Linked DNA regions of Homo sapiens: regions 2 and 3 are each linked to region 1. Evidence: promoter capture Hi-C in 16 types of primary human blood cells and fetal thymus (Javierre and others, 2016). All regions are on one chromosome and are shown on one strand. Each heading gives the region's core, a stretch centred on a gene start or on the middle of the fragment in contact. The rest is flanking DNA. Distances are from core to core; before and after follow the strand shown.

Region 1 (3,690 bases), core at 405-2,904:
TTATGAGACAGTGGTAAGCAACAGAGATATAAAATGAATAACATAGTCCTGCCCTTAACAGTTTGGTTTAGCAAGCATTTATTCAATGTACACCATATACAGTATCAATAACTGCAAAGTGCTAACATATAGATGTGTACCTACATTTTAGGGAAAGCTTTCAAGAATGATGTCAGAGTTGAGCCTTAAGGAATTAGCAGGAGTTTGCTTGATGAAGAGAAAGGAAGGGAAGGGCATATCCAGGTCTGAGAAAAATGCCCAGAGTATGTGGGGGAGGCAGGAGCTGAAAAAGTAGGCAGGAGCTAAATCATAACAGGCCTGTATGACAAACTAAGGAGTTTGCACTTTATTCTGGACAGAATGGGGAACAACTGGAGGATTTTAAGAGGAATGACATGAACAGATGTTTTGTTGTTGTTAGTCTCACCCAAGGATGGACTGGAGATTGGACTGGAAGGAAGCCAGGGCTGAATGCAGACAAACTAATTAGGAGGCTGTTGCTGTCATCTCAATGAGAAATGATGAGAAGAACATAATCTATGTCACAGGCACAGAGGATGGAGAGCAGAACACCTATTTGAGAAATATTCTATAAATAGAAATGATAGGACATGACTATTGATTGGACATGTGTGGGTGGAAAGCCAGAGTCTAAGATTCTTCCCAGCTTCCTCTGTCTAGCTTAGGCAATTATTTGGACAGTGGTACTACTGAGCACGGCACGCACACAGTAGAAGCAGCATATTGACTTTTTTTCTTTAAGGGAGGCAGGGAAAGATGACGAGTTCAATTTTAAATGCTGAATCTGAGACCTGTGGGGAATCCAAGGGGAGAGGTGCATGAGTCAGTTAGCTAACTAGACCTGTGCTTTTTAGCCTCAAGAAATTTACAAGACTATTCCAGAAGCATGTGTACTGACAACCTCACTGCCAAAGGAACAGGCATACCAATTAGAGAAAATGACAATTTTTCATGTTAAAAAAAAAAAAACTGAAAACACAGGGGTTGAGAGTTAATAACGAAACATTATGTTACTCGCCAAACTGACACAGCAGAACAATGTATTTCTCTAGTAAGCTAAATGTAGGGTTTGATGGGTTTCCTCCTGACGACACTTGAAAATAGAGGTGTACCTGGTGTTTAGATCTAGGAATTCCTTTCAGCAGGTTTGAAGAGCAAGAGCTGAGAAATGCGCCCTCCAGTGGCAGTGGAATGAGGGGTGTCTAGTAACCCTTTTTACCACCAAACAAAGCCCTGTAAAGAAATGCAATTTACCGGGATCAGAAAGCCACAATGCTGGTACCAGTAAACCGTCAAACCAAGCGAACCCTCTCAGGCGCCAGGAAGCCTTACCTGTCACGTTGGCCAAAGGAAAATTTCACTTTCGACTCAACAAAATAAGACCTCAGATTTGATAGCTTGCAGTAAGTCCCGCTTGGCGACGATTAAACACCCTGCAAGTCGAAACGCGTAGTCTAATCAAATCCTCTCCAGCCTGCAGGGCCGGGCTTCCACCACGTGGGTGGCTGCGGCCAGCAGGATCAATCCGCGAAGGGTGGGGGTAGGAGGCGTGCCCCTGCGGTGGGAGGCGGGGTCTGCGCAGTGGGTGGGGCTTCGGCGGAACCTAGCTAAGAGGTTCCTCTCGCCTCCGCTCCCCTTTTGCCTTCAACCTTCGAGCCGCCACGTAATGCCACGTCCCCGCGCATGCGCATCTTGGCCGCTGCTGGCGGCTGTTTCCGGGCTTAGAGGGCTGGAGTGGCCGCCGAGTTGGAGGCGGTGGTGGCAGCAGTAGGAGTGTGTAGAGTGCGGGATTGGGGCCCAGGCCCTGCGGAGGGCGGGGGAAGTTGTCTTCTTTTTTTTCCGGAGGGGCCGGTAAACCTGGTGGCTGAACGGCAAGATGAATTTCCTCCGCGGGGTAATGGGGGGTCAGAGTGCCGGACCCCAGCACACAGAAGCCGAGACGGTGAGAGGAGCAGCGGGTCTGGGACTTGGGAAGGGGTCCGGGCAGGGACGGGGACGGAGCACTCGGAGACCCGAAGGTCACCTCCAGCGTCCCACCATGGAGGGGGCATCCACATGCCGCCTCCCCCTTTGCCCTCCTTCCGCTCCTGAAATCCCAGAGTTATTCAATCACGCCCCCAGCTCAGTCCCCATTGCTGCCGTTCGGCCGGACTGACGGCGGCCGCGCCCCGCAGCTCTGTAGGCCCTGAAGCTCGGGCTAGGAGAGTGGTCCGCAGGTGGTACCGCACGGGAAGGGACGGATGCGCGGCCGAGCTGGCCCGAACTGCCTCCCACGCCCCTCGGGGCCGTGGGCCCCTCCCTCTTTCTCTTTCGCTCGTCTGCACTGGCCGAGAGGAGCCTGAAGTCCTGCTCCCTCCCTCGCAGTCTGAAACTGGGGCGTTGGGGAAAACTGCGAGAAGGTTTAAAACCCAGCTGTTGGTGAGAGCATTTGGCTAAGAATAAAACGATATTCTTTGAAGGACAAATCCACCTGCTCCTGTCCCATCAACTGGAAGAGCGGTCGTTCTGCCTGGTGTTATTTGTTCAGATCCGGCTTTTCGGGCTCACCCAAATATATATCATTTGGCAAATGCTACCTTGAACGTAGTAGGGATCTTAAGCGCTCAAACTGCTTTGGGGACACGTCCACCGCTTTCTGCCTGAACTCCTAATGACATGATTTGCGGCGTTATTTAAAAAAAAAAAAAAATGGTTAGCCGCTGAAAACATTATTTAATAGTTGCTTAGATTCTAGGTTTAGAATACACTTATTTTGAAGTTTGGTTAGTGTTTAATGGAATCGAGGGTGTATGCCTTTTTGAAATAAACTTTTTATTTGAGAAGAATTTTAGATCTACATAAAAGAGACTAAGTATAACACTTTAATGGCTAACTTTGTTAATGGGATCCTGAGGGATAATATAGTAGCTTTCATTTGTCAGGCTCTTACCTTGTGCTAGGTTCTGTGCTGAGCTCTTTATATTCCACATTATGCTTTAATCGTTAACTACCCTGCAAGATAGGTGAGAGTATTCTCACCTTAAAAGTCAAAAAATGAGACTGAGAGGGGTGAAGTAGGCCGGACGCGGTGGCTCACGCCTCTAATCCCAGCACTTTGGGAGGCTGAGGCCGGCGGATCACCTGAGGTCGGGAGTTCGAGACCAGCCTGACCAACATGGAGAAACCCCGTCTCTACTAAAAATACAGAATTAGCCGGCCGTGGTGGCACATGCCTGTAATCCCAGCCACTCGGAAGGCTGAGGCAGGAGAATCGCTTGAACTCGGGAGGCGGAGGTTACGGTGAGCAGAGATCGTGCCATTGCACTCTAGCCTGGGCAACAAGAGCGAAACTCTGTCTCAAAAAAAAAAAAAAAAAAAAGGGGTGAAGTAACTTGACCAATGTCACACTGCTAATAATAGAGCCAGGATTCAACCAAGAGGTACCTTACTTCAAAGCCTTCACTTTATTGCTCATGCCTGTATTTCAATACTTTTTGGGAACTTTATATAGTATTACTAAAATTAACTGCAGCTAGTCGCAGTGACACAGGCCTATAATCCCAGCTAAGGGGATGCTAAGCCAGGAGGATCGCTTGAGCCCAGGAGTTTGAGACTAGCCTGGGCAGCATGAAGAGACTCCATCTCAAAAAAAAAAAAAATAACTGCGCAGGTCTGGTTAGAATTGTTTAA
Region 2 (4,071 bases), core at 105-2,604, 6.6 Mb after region 1:
TAAGGGGAAGGGAGGAGGTTACAATGCAACTAGATAATATCACACGTTAGGGTATTTTACAAGTTGTATGAAAACTACCTTGGGAGAGAGCTTGACAAGCTTTCATCGAGTTCAAATACTAACCAGCCTTTTTAGATCTGATCTGGTATAAAATTCATGAAAACCACTTTTTTGAGACAGAGTCTCGCTCTATTGCCAGGCTGTGGTGCAATGGTGTGATCCTGGCTCACTTCAACCTCTGCCTCCCAAGTTCAAGCAATCTTCCCATCTCAAGCTCCTGGGTAGCTGAGACTATGGGTGCACACCACGAGGCCCAGCTAATTTTTTTTTTTTTTTTTTTTTTTTGTAGAGACAGGATCTCATCATGTTGCCCAGGCTGGTCTGGAACTCCTGGGTTCAATCTGCCCACCTCAGCCTCCCAAAGTGCTATATTACAAGCGTGAGCCACCGCACCCAGCCCACTTTTTTTAACTATTTAAAACTAATGAGACATTAAGGTTAGCCAATAACAAATCTTCCCCAAAAAACACTTTAGTCAATAAAAATATAAATTTTGGTATTATTTCCCCATCATTAAAGAATAGGTATTCCTCTCCCCCAGCTTTCTACAGATGACATTTTCAAGGTAAGTGTGAAAAAGAATTCCATTTATTCAAGACTAATATACAATGGACCAAACATTTTCAGAGACTTCTCTGTATTAAATCTCATTACTTCACACTTTAGAATGAACCTAACTAAATGACTACTAAAAAGCGAAGTTGAAAAAATAAACATCTAATAAATGAAACATGACAGTTTTTTTGGGAGGGGGACAGAGTCTCGCTTTGTCGCCCAGGCTGGAGTGCGGTGGCGCGATCTTGGCTCACTGCAACCTCTGCTTCCCGGGTTCAAGCTCTTCTCCTGCCTCAGCCTCCCAAGTAGATGGGACTACAGATGCCCACCATCATGCCCGGCTAATTTCTGTATTTTTAGTAGAGACAGGGTTTCAACATGTTGGCCAGGTTGGTCTCGAACTCCTGACCTCAGGTGATTCGCTTGCGTCAGCCTCCCAAAGTGCTGGGATGACAGGCATAAGCCACCGCGCCCGGCCAACATGACAGTTTTTTAAATAAACTTTTTTTTTCTTTTTTTGAGACGGAGTCTTGCTCTGTTGCCCAAGCTGGAATGCAGTGGTGCAACCTTGTCTCACTGCAACCTCCGCCTCCAGGGTTCAAGTGATTCTCCCGCCTCAGCCTCCTGAGTGACTACAGGCGCATGTAACCACACCTGGCTAATTTTTGTATTTTTAGTAGAGCTGGGGTTTCGCCATGTTGGCCAGGCTGGTCTCCAATTCCTGACCTTAGGTGATCCACCCATCTTGGCCTCCCAAAGTGCTGAGATTACAGGTGTGAGCCACTACGCCTGGCCTAAAAATAAAACACTTTAAGAGACCAGGTCTCACTATCAAAATGCAGTGGCTCCATCATAGCTTCCTGCAGCCCTGAGCTCCTTCCTGGGCTCAACACATTCTCCTGCCTCTGCCTCCTGAGTAGATGTAACTACAACTACAAACACACCCCCCAACACACTAGCCTTTTTTTTTTTTTTTTTTTTAAAGAAACAGGGGTCATATTATGTTGCCTAGCTGGTCTAGAAATCCTGGCATGAAATGATCCTCATACCTCAAGACTTCTGAGTAGCCAGTGATTACAGGCACGAGCCACTACTTTAATTAACTTTAAATGCTTAATCCAATACCTCCTTTTCACTTCACTACAAGGAAGCAATGACATCTTGTATGTTTACGTTTTAAATAAGCTCTCAATCAGCTTTGTAAGGTAAACTCCCATTTACCTAGAGGTTAAGGAATAGGTATTTTCCTTAACCTGAAGGTTAAGGTTCTGGTTAACTGAGATTACTACATATTCACAATTCTATAAAACTGTGTACTGGAAATCAATTTAGGTATCAATGCTGAAGTCAGAAAATGATTTGTACCTTGATGAATTTTCCAACGTTTTAAAATCATGTTACTTTTCAAAAGTGTAAGGAAAAATCTGTAGGAGATTCATTCCATGACATTGTCTGTTGGTTGCTTTTTGAGTATATTTTCTCATGGCTTCATCTATCTTGCTCATAAGACTAAATGGGGAGACAGACTTCCTGGCTGTGTGGGCTCTGTGGTAGTCTGAAGTCTAGATAAGCAGGAGTTTACAGTGCAAGACCCAATACTTAAACTGTCACCTTGATTACTGGCCAAGCACCACCAGTAAATTGGAGTCTTCCCTCCCCACCCCCAAATATTCTTAAATACCTAGCTCCAACGTACAATATAATACTCCAGAAACTAAAACATGCTTACCTTTACTCCACAGGAGTAAATCACTGGCAGTATCAACTATTAGGGCACTGGATAAATACACACAAGCTATGAAAGCAGGCTATGTAGTCAATCCTCCTGTGGTGAGCATTGTTTCCAACACATAGATCAGCAAACCAAGTAACAAACATGTCGTATTACCTGAAACCACACTGTTGGAAGTGAAGCAACAGAAAGAGATCCCACGCTTTCAGCATCCAGTTCAGTGCCCTATCTACTAAAACGTTGAAGCAGAACTGAAGTCAAATCAAGCTTGGACTAACATAAGTTATGTTTCACCCATTTGTAAATGTGCACACACTTGAGGTACACAGCTTCCAAGTGGAATGGGAAAAAAAATTACTCTATTCCTTTTTAAATGCTTTCAAGCATGGTATGTATTATGACTTGAAGGCTAAAACTAATCACATCCTTCACGTTGGCATAAATAGTATACTCAATATGTATACTCAAATGTATACTCAATAGTATACTCAAAATGTTCTCGTATTAGGGCAGCCTTACCCTAATATTATGTATTAGGACGATAGCAGAGTACCCAGGAAATATTAAAAACATACACTGAGTTTGTAGAAAGGGTCACATGGCTTAAGGGAAAAAACCCCAGATTTAAGGCAAAGTATGTGTATCTCAAAAACAAGCACTGAAAAACTTCAATGACATTCTCCCAATTCCAAACTTAAAAAACGAGATTATTTTTAGTATCTTTCATAATAGATGAAAATTTACAGTGAGAAGTATTTAATACTCTTCGCTTAAATGTTCATCTAAAGATCTGGGGACATCAATTTCTGGAATTTTTAACTCGGGAAATTTGTCAAAGGCTCCCAAGAATGCTAACACTGAGACCAATCTACGCAGGGTCTCAACTTTACTACATACAGTAAACCCAACTGTACTGAATCAAAGGCCAGTAAATTTGGCATGAGACTACTCTAAAAGAAATTATTTTACAAAGCAAACAATGTTCAGATTGCCCCAGAAGCACTAAGGTATAAGACCATAATCTCAAACATTTAAAGCAAAAACATGAGCCTAGTCTTTTATAATCAGACAGGCAACAACCTACAGCAGGATTCACAGAATTCCCAAATGGGAAGAATCACACTTGGGCTCATTATACACTAACCATTAACAGGACAATATCTACTGTCCTGTTATTAAAGAAGCATTGCTGGACTTTGGCTAAGTGAATGGGGGGACTTTTTTGCTTCCTACCCAATCCAATGCAGGAAAGTCTATGTACCTACCTTGTAAAACTATCTCAAAGTTAACACAACATTGTAGTTTCCATTGATTTTTAAACTTTAAAAACTCTGCCCTCAGAGAGCTTGCTACATGGCATGTATATTTTGCCAGACACTAAATAATTTTAAAGTACCTACCCCAAATGAACTGCAGCACTGCAGAGAACAGAATGGGTCCACACCACAAAGTAAAATGAGAAATTCCAATGCTTATAAGTAAAAACTACGGATGTTAATGTGGGAAAGAGTAAATCAAAGTGAACTCAGGAGGGCATACTATGGAAATAATTACTTATTCTAAAGTCCCATAGTAAACTGTAGAAACATCCACTAGAGGTGTAACAGGCATGCCTTCCTAAAAATAGCTGTCCATTCTTACATGCAAAAGGAAAAAAACCTATTTCTAAAACCAACTGATTTTTAAAGTATTTTAGGATGAAACTGTAATCACTTTATTCTCAG
Region 3 (3,740 bases), core at 74-2,573, 7.8 Mb after region 1:
ATCTGAGAAACAGGGGCCTCCCTAGCACTCAGGTACTTCCCAAGGGCTAATCGTTTAAGCTACCGAGGATTTACGGTCCCACTCTATCTACACTACAGGTATTCCAAAATAATTTCCACAGCTACACATATATTTTAAATGGTCATATATTTGTTCTTTATTAGGTATTACTTTGTAAGGTTATCTGAAATTGTATACATAAAACATACCAATTCCAACCTTTATTAGGATTGTGCCAAAGAGCAATTTTGTAATGTTTAGATTTTGTAGAGACCGGGTCTCACTACGTTGTCCCCGATGGTCTCGAACTCGTGGGCTCAGGTGATTCACCCGCCTCGGCTTCCCAAAGGGCTGGAATTACAGGCGTGAGCCACCGCGCCCGACCTATATTAAGGCAATTTTGAGTAAAATAGACGTTATATCTTAAAATGAACTTAGCAGAAATTACTAGGCATTGTTCAGCAGGGTATTCTCCGAACTGTACCACACAGCAGGGAAGTGTATTTCAGATGCTTAGACTTTCTTTCTGCAAGTTACTGAAAGTGCTACAGGACATTAACTACTTCCGAGCTCAACGTTTTACAGCGTTTCTTTAATTTCATAGAACTTTTAGAAAATAGGCAACGTACTTTTAAAAACTGTTTTAACAAATTTAATAACGCAAATAAAAAGATATCTGATATACCAGATTAAGCTGTTCCATCCACTAAGATTTGCCACTGGACGCAACATCTATTTTTATTCCCTTACCATCCTACCATCGCAACAAACACGCACAGACGCTGCTCTGCATGAAAAAGTCCGCCTGGTTTTGCAAACGCCTGTCGGGCGTCGCGAGAAACGGAAAGTTTACCGCAGGCTCCGCAGAGCAGCGGAAAGACGCTCCGTGAACTTTCCATCTTTTCACGCCCAAGTTTCCACAGCTACAGGGGCGCCGAGGAAAGATGGGAGCGTGTGGGACACTTGGGTCGGAAAAGGGAAATAACGGAGGATAGCAGAGGGAGGGCTAATGCTGGAGAAGACTTCGTGGGCACGAGGCACCTCAGGGACCGCTGAGGGGGAGAGAAGGCAGAGCCGCGACCGCAGGGAGGAGGCGCGGCGGCGTCGGGGGAGCGGGCGGGGACCGGAGCAACAGCGGGGAGGCAGGCCGCGCGCAGGGCTCTTCCCAGGCGACGCCGGACCCCGCCCCGTCCCTCGGCTCACCGTGTCCGAGTCCGTGTTGAGGTGCTGGAAAGCGAGTGCGCCGAGCACAAAGCCCGAGAGCACCGCCGACGTACTCTCCCCCTCCATGCTACCGCCGCCTCAGGCTACACAAGAGGACGAGGGCGGGGCGCGCGGAGGCAAGACCCTGTGGTGGCAGCGAGGCGGGGCCCAGCGAGGAGGCGGGGCCTGCGCCGGCGCACGGGCTGCTGCGCGCTCCGCAGAGGGGCGGGGCGAGGGGGCTGAGGGCGGGCGCGGGCGGGTCCCCAGCCGCGCGCTCGGCTCCTCCTTCGCTTCTGCTGCCGGCCTCTCCCGGAAGGCCGCTGCATGTCGGTACCACTGCAGAGGGCTGCGAATTGCTTTTGGTGGCCTGCGCCTGCTGAGCGACCTGTCACAAACATGCAAAGCTATCAAAATGAACACGGTTGACAGGGTCATTTTAAGACAAGCAATGATTACAAGAATAAAAGAGTTGAGTAGCAACATTACGATGCCACAGTGGATATGCCACGGTTTTGGTTTTCAAGCTGCATTTTAGCACCCTTCACTCACTGAAACTTACAGAATACTAATAACCATTTGGGGATTGTCTTTGCTAGAACTCTCTAGCCATGTTCTGTGTCTGTGTGTTTGTGTGTGTGCATGTGTGTGTTCCCTTGCTTTTAGAAAACTTCAGCCTAATTTAAACAATACATGGATATTTAATGTTCTGACAGTTTAATGATAGGCATAATCATAGTAAGCTGGTTCATTTAATGTAAATGGTAAGGTGAGTGGACCAGGGCTTGGCAAATGTATTTTACACACACACACACACACACACACACGTAAAGGTATGTTTCTTAAATGACTGAAAGTAAGCATAATAGCAGACTACTGAATTAGTGTGGCACATTTGTGGGTTTTGTTGTCAAGCAGTTGTCTGTGGCTGCGTAACACACAATACATATGTATATAATTAATGATTATATATTTATTCCCTAGAATTAAGTTTCTTGCCTTCATTTTGTAGGGGTGAAGGGAAAGCTCTGCCCTCTGAAGGTTCACTGGAGTGAACTAACAAAAGAAAAGATGAACAGAAGGAAAAGGGATACGAATTTATTTTATTTTTTATTTTTTTGAGACTGAGTCTCGCTTGGTCACCCAGGCCAGAGTGCAGTGGCACCATCTCAGCTCACTGCAGCCTCCACTTCCCGGGTTCAAGCGATTCTTCTGCCTCAGCCTCCTGAGTAGCTGGGATTACAGGCACGTGCCACCAAGCCCGGCTTATTTATTTATTTTTTTTGTATTTTTATTAGAGACAAGGTTTCACCATGTTGGCCAGGCTGGTTTCGAACTCCTGACCTCGGGTGATCTGCCCCCTTCGGCCTCCCAAAGTGCTGGGATTACAGGCGCTCCCGACTGGCATACAAATTTATTAATGTGCCCTGGAGAAAATCACAGTAGAGTGATTACCCAATAATCCAATGAGGTTCAGATGCTTATGTACACTTTTTCATAAGGGAGAGGGAGATGGAGGAATGTAAGTAATTTTGAGGATCACAATTGATTCTTTGGATGAGCTTGAGGGATTGCTTGCAAAGAATTCTTTGTGGAAGTTGGATGAGCCCAAACAGCAGTCAATAACTTAGTACAAAGTTCCTCTGGGCTCTAGATTTGATGTTTGACTTTCAGTCTTCTTTCCACAGTCAGTAGATAATGAAATTTCAATGAAGGGGTGGAAGACAATTGTCGTAGGGTTGATAAAGAGTGGACAGTCGTGCAGGAGTATGATTACACAAAGGGAGTATGATGTAATGGTAACAAACTGGGGGAACTTAGAATGGGCTGTTTGTTCAGGTTCTTCTCTGTGTCCTGGTGTCTTCAGAGGTAAGGATATTCCTTTTCTCTATGTAAAGGGAGGGTACCTCTCAAATGATGGTCTTATGACCTACTTCAGGGAAGGACACCGGGTTTTATGGCCTGCCTCAAGGGAGATGGCCAGAGTATTCTTTCTATGGTTTATGGCCTGCTTCAGGGCAAAAGGAGTGAGGGGAAGGTGCAAATGACCTCTTTGCTCTGCTATTTTCTCAAATGCTCAGGTGCTATATTTTGGAGTAGTGTGTCCTGAACCACATCACTAGTTTTACTTCCTGCAACCCAGAGCAGCACAGTAGCTGAACCAAATACTCCTTCGGAAGCCAAAAAAGCTTGGGTATGAGTGGAGATAAGGAGAAATAGTAGATGAGAGTAAAGGAATAAATAAACGGGTTATATAATGAGGGAAATCCAATATTCATTAAGACCTCCAAAGAAACTCAAAGCAAGGGATGATATTGTCTCTTATCTTAATTATATCAGATGCCTGAAATAATGAAGATATATATTGCTAAGAACTCTGCTTTTGAAACCTGAAAAGATCAAATGGAAGCCTGAGTGGCCACACCCTGGGAGGCATTTTCTTTTCTTTTTCTTTTTTTTTTTTTTTTGAGACGGAGTCTCGCTCTGTCTCCCAGGCAGGAGTGCAGTGGCATGATCTTGGCTCACTGGAAGCTCCACCT

Evidence for each region. Contacts are between HindIII fragments. The CHiCAGO score rates a contact against its expected background, and 5 or more counts as called.
Region 2: a fragment that was not itself captured here is called in contact with the fragment with the promoter of USO1 in region 1 in 1 of 17 cell types (neutrophils); the score reaches 5.4 in neutrophils.
Region 3: a contact is called between a fragment that was not itself captured here and the fragment with the promoter of USO1 in region 1, in 1 of 17 cell types (non-activated CD4 T cells). The highest score is 5.2, in non-activated CD4 T cells.

What each region holds. Positions count from the first base shown.
Region 1 is chr4:75,722,923-75,726,612 of GRCh38, forward strand. USO1 (USO1 vesicle transport factor) reads left to right here and starts at 1,655. Exons shown (of 24, transcript NM_003715.4): 1 at 1,655-1,963. The coding sequence starts at 1,898. It also overlaps a transcript of G3BP2 not described here. RefSeq lists enhancers at 845-1,765, 1,766-2,685, 1,782-1,861 and silencers at 1,442-1,611, 1,946-2,123. The HindIII fragment of the contact is 5,085 bases long and covers 156-3,690 here.
Region 2 is chr4:82,365,451-82,369,521 of GRCh38, forward strand. The region is part of intron 2 of HNRNPD (heterogeneous nuclear ribonucleoprotein D); the gene reads right to left. Among named protein-coding and RNA genes, the nearest start is that of HNRNPD, 6.5 kb to the right of the region's middle. RefSeq lists an enhancer at 420-1,091. The HindIII fragment of the contact is 2,515 bases long and covers 98-2,612 here.
Region 3 is chr4:83,483,783-83,487,522 of GRCh38, forward strand. ABRAXAS1 (abraxas 1, BRCA1 A complex subunit) reads right to left here and starts at 1,318. Exons shown (of 9, transcript NM_139076.3): 1 at 1,204-1,318. The coding sequence starts at 1,290. RefSeq lists a silencer at 1,044-1,533. The HindIII fragment of the contact is 4,128 bases long and covers 1-3,387 here.